Linked DNA regions of Homo sapiens: region 1 is linked to region 2. Evidence: promoter capture Hi-C in 16 types of primary human blood cells and fetal thymus (Javierre and others, 2016). All regions are on one chromosome and are shown on one strand. The core of a region is centred on a gene start or on the middle of the fragment in contact, and the rest is flanking DNA. Distances in the headings are between cores, read along the strand shown.

Evidence for each region. The method cuts DNA at HindIII sites, captures the fragments that hold promoters and counts their contacts. A CHiCAGO score of 5 or more calls a contact.
Region 1: the fragment with the promoter of ELAC2 here is called in contact with the fragment with the promoter of ZNF18 in region 2 in 7 of 17 cell types (naive B cells, fetal thymus, M2 macrophages and 4 more); the score reaches 10.0 in naive B cells.

What each region holds. Positions count from the first base shown.
Region 1 is chr17:13,016,096-13,019,746 of GRCh38, reverse strand. It overlaps ELAC2 (elaC ribonuclease Z 2), which reads left to right and starts at 1,720. Exons shown (of 24, transcript NM_018127.7): 1 at 1,720-2,044; 2 at 2,626-2,676; 3 at 2,815-2,885. The coding sequence starts at 1,800. RefSeq lists a silencer at 1,603-1,682 and enhancers at 2,203-2,262, 2,283-2,392, 1,904-2,404. The HindIII fragment of the contact is 8,738 bases long and covers 1-3,651 here.
Region 2 is chr17:11,996,145-11,999,811 of GRCh38, reverse strand. It overlaps ZNF18 (zinc finger protein 18), which reads left to right and starts at 2,337. Exons shown (of 7, transcript NM_001303281.2): 1 at 2,337-2,381. RefSeq lists enhancers at 1,769-1,848, 1,919-2,158, 1,273-2,256 and a silencer at 2,189-2,638. The HindIII fragment of the contact is 4,230 bases long and covers 1,142-3,667 here.

The DNA of each region.
Region 1 (3,651 bases), core at 471-2,970, 1.0 Mb before region 2:
CGGCCTCCCAAAGTGCTGGGATTACAGGCATAAGCCACCATGCCTGGCCACAGAGCAGGTTTTGAACTACTAGCCTGAAGCTATTCTCCCGCCTTGGCCTCCCAAAGTGCTGGGATTACAGATATGTGCCACGGTGCCCAGGCTTTAAGCAACTTTTAAAAACTATCATTTTTATTTCAAATACTTATGGAGATGGTGGTATGATAATCTTTTCAGTTTGTAACGCCCTCTAACTGTGTAAAGTAGATCTGAAGTGTTTTCCTGACCCTCACTGGGATGGTTATTTCAAGTACAAAACGTTTTCACACCGTGGGTGATAATCTTCCATAAAAAATTTCATATTTGAATGAAAACAGCTCAAGAAATACACTAATGAGCAAAAATATATGGGGAAAGAGGAACGTGTAGTTTTGACTTAACTGAAGAAACCAAGAGGAAACTGGTCTCCATATGAAAATGTGATCCTGGAAAGTCAGGTGTCAAGATTTTCGAGTAGGAATCTACATGACTTGAATCTCCCTTACTTCCTGAATAAAAGTGACATCTTTCAGTATTTATTTAAAAAAATCATATGTCAGTGGAGCTTCCAGGTAAATTATCTTTAAAAAATCATATTTGAGTGGAGCTTCCAGGTAAATTATCTTCCTCTTTTAAGGGAGCTCCCTGTATTTCTAGCGGCTTTAACTGATATCCCTTTCAGTGAGAAATCCTCATTAGCTACATAAGAGGGGACTGGGTGTTTTTTTCAAAAAGCTGGTATTGGGACATCTACCTCTGTGATGTCCCTGGTCAGCTATATTGTCTAGGAGTTGAAACATTTTGTATTAATTTTCTATCATTTACTGGGTGCCTCTTCTGTGACAGTGCCACTCAAAGGTCTATTGATATATTATCAGGTGACTGAATTCTATATTCTGAAGTAGGAGATACTGTTATTGCTGTTATTACATTTTACACATAAGAAAGCTGAGGCTCTGAGAGGTCAAGATCACGCAGCTAACAAATGAGCCAAGACTCTTGCTTTAGAGCTTGTCCTCTATTCTTGCTTTTCTTTCCAAAAAACACTACAATTTTTGTTTTGTTTTGTTTTGTTTTGAGACAGGGTCTCGAGGTGTCACCCAGGCTGGAGTGCAGTGGCGCGATTTCGACTCACCGCAACCTCCGCCTCCGCGCTTAAGCGATTCTCCTGCCTCAGCCTCCCAAGTAGCTGGGACTACAAGCTCGGGACACCACGTAAAAATGATCAAGTTCTAACATGTATGCATACGAATTACAATGGAAATAAAATTAGCAAAGCGCTTATGCTAATGCTCAATACAATTGATTTCCTCACATTTAATCCTCACAACCACTACAACCACCTCTAACTCAAGCTCTGAGGGACTGACGTGCCCGGAGGACACAGCTCTTATCTGGTGAGAACAGGAGCGTTTTAGCGAAACTCCAAACTCCTAGGTCCCGCCTTCCCCAGGAAGGCTTTTCCTGGCACTGTGCTTCCGGAAGTCCCGCCCCAGGAGAAAAACAGCTTCCGGAAAAAATTGCGGCCGGCAAACCGGAACAGAACTAGGGGCGGGGCCGCTTGAGACGCTCTAGTATTCCTCTACTCTATGGCCACTGTCAATTGACAAGTCCCGAGCGGTAAAGCTCCTTTCTATTGGATGAGCAGCCTCGCGTAGGCGGGAAGCTCGGTGCACGGCGCGCTGATTGGCTGGATCCGCCATGCGGAGCGGCTAGGTGGTGCACGGGAAACGCGGGCGTAGGTGACCGGCGGCTTTCTCAGTTTTGGTGGAGACGGGCGCATGTGGGCGCTTTGCTCGCTGCTGCGGTCCGCGGCCGGACGCACCATGTCGCAGGGACGCACCATATCGCAGGCACCCGCCCGCCGCGAGCGGCCGCGCAAGGACCCGCTGCGGCACCTGCGCACGCGAGAGAAGCGCGGACCGTCGGGGTGCTCCGGCGGCCCAAACACCGTGTACCTGCAGGTGGTGGCAGCGGGTAGCCGGGACTCGGGCGCCGCGCTCTACGTCTTCTCCGAGTTCAACCGGTCAGTCAACGAGCCACGCCCCGTCCCGCTGGGCCCTCAGTGCGGCGCAGCCTCTGAGCATCGGGGCACCTCCCAGGGCTTCGGCTTCCCTGCTTCACACATGTGGTTCACTGTTGCGGGGGTTCGTGGAGTTATGGTGGGTGGGAAATCCGAGATTCTTTGCATCCATGTGATTTCTGCGGATCTGTGAAGAACTTCAGGCCTGGGTCTGAGCGTCCTTTTCCCAACCCTTGGGCCCCGGCCTGGCTGTCAGCACTTTCGGAGCTCCACCCTCTTCCGTGCACCCCAAGGCCAGTGTGTCGTTGTTAGCGTGTGGGGTGGACAGATCTGGTGTGTAGCCGGTGGTGGAGAAAGGACTCATTTTGTCCTAGCACCCACACACACAGGCCCCCACTCCTCTCCACCTCTGCTAAGGAGGGCTCAAAACCCACCAGCATAAATGTGGCTCGGTAGTCCAACGTGGACTTTTAATTTTTTTTTCTTTTTTTTTTTTCCAGAGTCTACAATAAAACATCTAATTGGTGTCAGAGAGTTTACAGAATAAAACCTTCTGAATGTCTTGTGTAATGTTTGTCTTGTAGGTATCTCTTCAACTGTGGAGAAGGCGTTCAGAGACTCATGCAGGAGCACAAGTGAGTCAGTCTCTTGCTTTCGGAGGGGGAGTTGATTACGGGGCTTGAAAGCCGAAATGAGAGGCCAGTTGTTTTTTATAGCAAAAGTGGTCCTTGTTCTGTTCATGTTATCCTGTTTAAATGTTTTTTCATTCTTAGGTTAAAGGTTGCTCGCCTGGACAACATATTCCTGACACGAATGCACTGGTCTAATGTTGGGGGCTTAAGTGGTGAGTATATTCTTTGCAGTGTCAGAGGCTGGTGGGAAGTCTCTGGGATTTTAACCGGCTTTACCATTTTTCCAAGTCTGGGGTGGGCAGCTACTTTTTTTTTTTTTTTTTTTTTTGTCAGTGGCGTGATCTTGGCTCACTGCAACCTTTGCCTTCTGGGCTCAGGTGATCCCCTCACCTCAGCCTCCCAAATAGCTGGGACCACACGTGTGCCCCATCACACCTGGCTAATTTTTTTTGTATGTTTTGTAGCGACGGGGTTTTGCTATGTTGCCCAGGCTGGTCTCAAACTTCTGCGATCCTCCTGTCTCGGCCTCCCAGAGTGCTGGGATTACAGGCATGAGCCACCGCACCTGGCCTGGAATTCTTTTTATACCAGCCCAGTCAGCAGCAGCACAGAGCATTAAAAGCTGTGACTCAGGAGAACAGATTTTAATATGGATACCACCTCTTAAGTGTTACCATCCACTTAGTTTCTTGCGTTGCGGGGACAGAGATTTGTGGCAGTAAACTGGAGAGTCTAGCAGTGGTGATTACAGTTAATATGTTTACCGCAGACGCCATTGGCACATTGGCAGCCACACACATACCCACTGTCCAGATTACCCTGTCATTTATGTCTATCAACCGGAAGGTCAGGATTGTGTTGCAGCCAAATTGTGTGGGCTTGGTGGCATGGACCGGAAGGAGTGAAGTGTTAGACCAGTCTCCCTTCTCAGGGCTGAGACTAGGGTGAGGCACTTAGGGTGCCAGCCCTTCACTTGCA
Region 2 (3,667 bases), core at 1,088-3,587:
CCTATATAACTTGCACTCCATCTCTAACAGTACCTCTCCTCCTTACCCCAATGTAATTTTCTTCACAACACCTATAATTACCACTTGTGCACTTATTTATTGTCCAGCTCACCCTACAAAATATAAGTCTTGGGAGGGCTGGGACTTTGTGTGTTTAGTTCATTCTTGCATATATAGCTATTGGAAGAGTGCTGGGCACATCATCTGGTAAATATTTATTGAATGAGTAAGTGAATAATAGAAATAGATGACACCTTTTCATTATTTCCTAAGCTGAGGTAGATATCTCCCTATTTTAAAAAATATTTTGATTGTTCAGCCTGTTTCGAAATAAGTGTTTATGCCTTTTCCTAAGGTGCCAGTTTATAAAGAAATTATTAAACTTCAAAGTGTCATTTTCATATCAGGAACCATCTACCAGGATTAGAGTTCTCAAACTGAGGTTTGTGGGTTCCAAGGATGGGTTTCAAGGCTGTGTTAGCTCCCTGGATTTGAGTGCAAAGTGTTGTATGTAGATGTGTATGTGCATTTTTCTTGGGAAAAATTTTACCTTCCATCAGATTCACAAAGGAGTCAGAACCCAATTAATGGTTTTGAATTACTGTTATCTTCCTTGGGTGTTGATCAGCTAAAAGCGAACACATTGAAGATAAAACTCCTATAATCTTCCCCTCTAAACCACCTTATCTCTTGACTTTCTTAGAAGCAGAGCACATTGATGTTGGAAGCAATACCCAATGAAGGTGTCCCTCTAAATGTGCCTGGTAAATTGTTAGCCATGCTGTCCTCAGGAACTCAAAGCAGCGCCATCAATCACATGAATGTTAGAAACGTCCAGCTAGGTGCCATGGCTCATGCCTGTAATCCCAGCACTTTGGGAGGCCAAGGTGGGTGGATCACTTGAGGTCACGAGTTCGAGACCAGCCTGGCCAACATGGTGAAACCCCGTCTCCACCAAAAATACAAAAAAAAAAAAAAAAAAAAAAAAAGACTAGAAACTTCCACCTATGTCAGGCTGAAACAGTAGTTTCACACATAGGATCTTGTTCAGACCCTGGGACTTAAGAGAACATGTCGAATCCCTTTTCCGCTGGTCACTTTTCAGGTACATGAAGATGTAATCCCATCCCCGCATCAAGCTTTATTTCTCCAGAGGAGGATCTTTAATTCTTGTAAACATGGGACAGGTACAGGACATGTTATGATAATGACAGGTACAGGACATGTTATGATAATGACAGGTACAGGACATGTTATGATAATGACAGGTACAGGACATGTTATGATAATGACAGGTACAGGACATGTTATGATAATGACAGGTACAGGACATGTTATGATAATGACAGCTCTTCTTTAAATTTTTATTTTTTATTTATTTTATTTCCATAGGTTATTGGGGAACATGGCAGCTTTTTTTGAATACCCTCCTCTTTGCCAGTTGCCCAAGGTGGAACACCCAAACTTTGACATGATACTTCCATTAATGCAACTTAGTATCACAAGTTGATGTCGTGGCCCAGCACAGGATGGCCTGGAAACCGGCAACACTGGACGCTGGGGAAAGGGTAAGAAGGTCTTGACCATTACAAATGGTGTGGAACTGAGCCGAGGGAGGGATAGTGAGAAGGGAGAGAGGGTGAGGTGTCTGAGAGACAATGAGGTCAAATCAGAGGATTCAGCCATTGTTGGCGTGTGGGAAAGGGAAGGAGAAGGGAAGAGTCAGGGATGACATTTGTTGAGAGAGAGAGAGAGAAGAGAGAGAGACGCAGGTGGAAAGAGGATGGCACCACATTGGACTAGCCCCAACGGAATGGGGAGAAGTGGGAGAGGACCCAGGGGATGCAGAGCTGATGAGAGTGGGAGAACCAAGACAGAGGAAGAAGGTTGGGGCAAATCAAGTGTCTCAGGGAGGCCCAGTGAGGCAAGAACGGAAAGGAGAAAGGCGGCGGTTAAGAATCAGGGATAATGGCAGAGCGTTGCAGCTCTGCGGGTGGGACTGGGCGGAAGGGTTTGGGAGAGACAAAGAAATGATCTTTGAAGGCCTCGCAGTGCTTGGCCGAGTGCCTGGCACAGAATAGGTGCGCAATAAATGACGGGTGAGAAGTGAAGGAACTCAGGAACAGTGATTAGTGAGTGAGTGACGGAAGGAACGGAGGATGGCGTTGGCTCGGGAACCTCGCTGCCATGTCGGTGGAGGCTCCTGGGCTGCAACGCCAGAGAGAGGCGGGGCGTCCCCGACGGCCAATAGGAGCTTCGGTATCAGCTCCGCCCCCGCCCCCTAGCTCCGCCCGGTGCCGCACGTCGTTCGCCTGCCGCCTGAGGCGCGCGCAGCCACCCAGCTCCCGGAAGTGCGCCCGGAGCCGGCGCCGCGGGCCGAGGTGAGCGCGCTTGCGGGGCGGTCCCGGCCTCCGGCCGCTCGGGGTCAGGCCTTGCGCTATCTGCGTCCGCACCTGACTCAGCTGGGCACCCCGGAGCTACGGAGGGGCCAGCGGGCTCCCTTGCCCATGCGTCTGGGAGCGCGCGGGGGACGTGGCGAGTGCGGGGCCGGGGCAGCCATGGCTGGGAGTGGACCGTGGGTGCGGGGGGATGTGTGAACCCCGTCCCGGCTCTGCATTCCTGCGCCTCTGCGCCCCGCGGGACCGGCCGGGTCTCTGCACTGGGACCGAAAACGGGCTCCTCCCCGCTGTCTTCCCCTAAGGGCTGAAAATGAGTCTCTGGAAGAGGAAACCCGATGGGATGATGCCTGGAGTCTCTCCCTCTCTCATCAGAGTGCAGTCGGCATTTGGGGGGCGCATGGTGGAGAATACATATCCAATGAGCAGCGCTGCCCTGGCCTCGAGCACTAAATGCCAGTTCCCCTAGCTGCTTGTGACAACCAGAAAACGCCCCAACAAATCACCAGACGTTGGCAGTTCTCCCCAAAGCAAAGGCTTTAGAGCTTCCTGGGTTAATCTGGCTGCCACTTGTGAGCCTCGGAGGTTCCTGATCTGTACACCAGGGTAATTGTGGGAATTGGAAATACATGAACCGAGCTTAATAATGAGCCGATACGTAGTAGGTGCTTAACAAATGGTTACTTATATATGTAACCATGTATGTAACCACTTGTGTATATTACACCTAGAATGCACTTTTAAAAATTCATTCTATTTGTTAAAGGTTTAATAACAGGTATAACAGACAACCTTATTTTTTTTTCATAACTAATGGGGGCAGTTCCTCATGAGGTTATCGGAATATAAACTCTATTAAATTTTTAATACTATATAAAGTAATTTAATTTTGAATAATCGAGACATTTTTCTTACACACTACCTGGGAGTATAATATTACTAACAAAAGATTTAAGTATTTTATAAAATCTGTAGTTTTTCCAAAATGTCATTTCTCTTAAATATTATCTAAACTGCTATCTTAATTTAGGAAACAGATAAATTGCAGTAAGTTTACAGGTCGGTATCTTGCTATCTAAAATCTTGCCGCTTGTTATTTGAAACTCTTGAGCCAAATAGGTTGGATTTACAAAGCAAGGTATTTTTAAAAATATATTTATTCGTTTTTTAAGATGTTATTTGAAACTGTAGGTTTACCTCTGAGCTAAAGCTGCTTTTCAGGTGGTTTGATAATGCTGTCATTGTCACTCAGTATGAAAACATATTTTAAT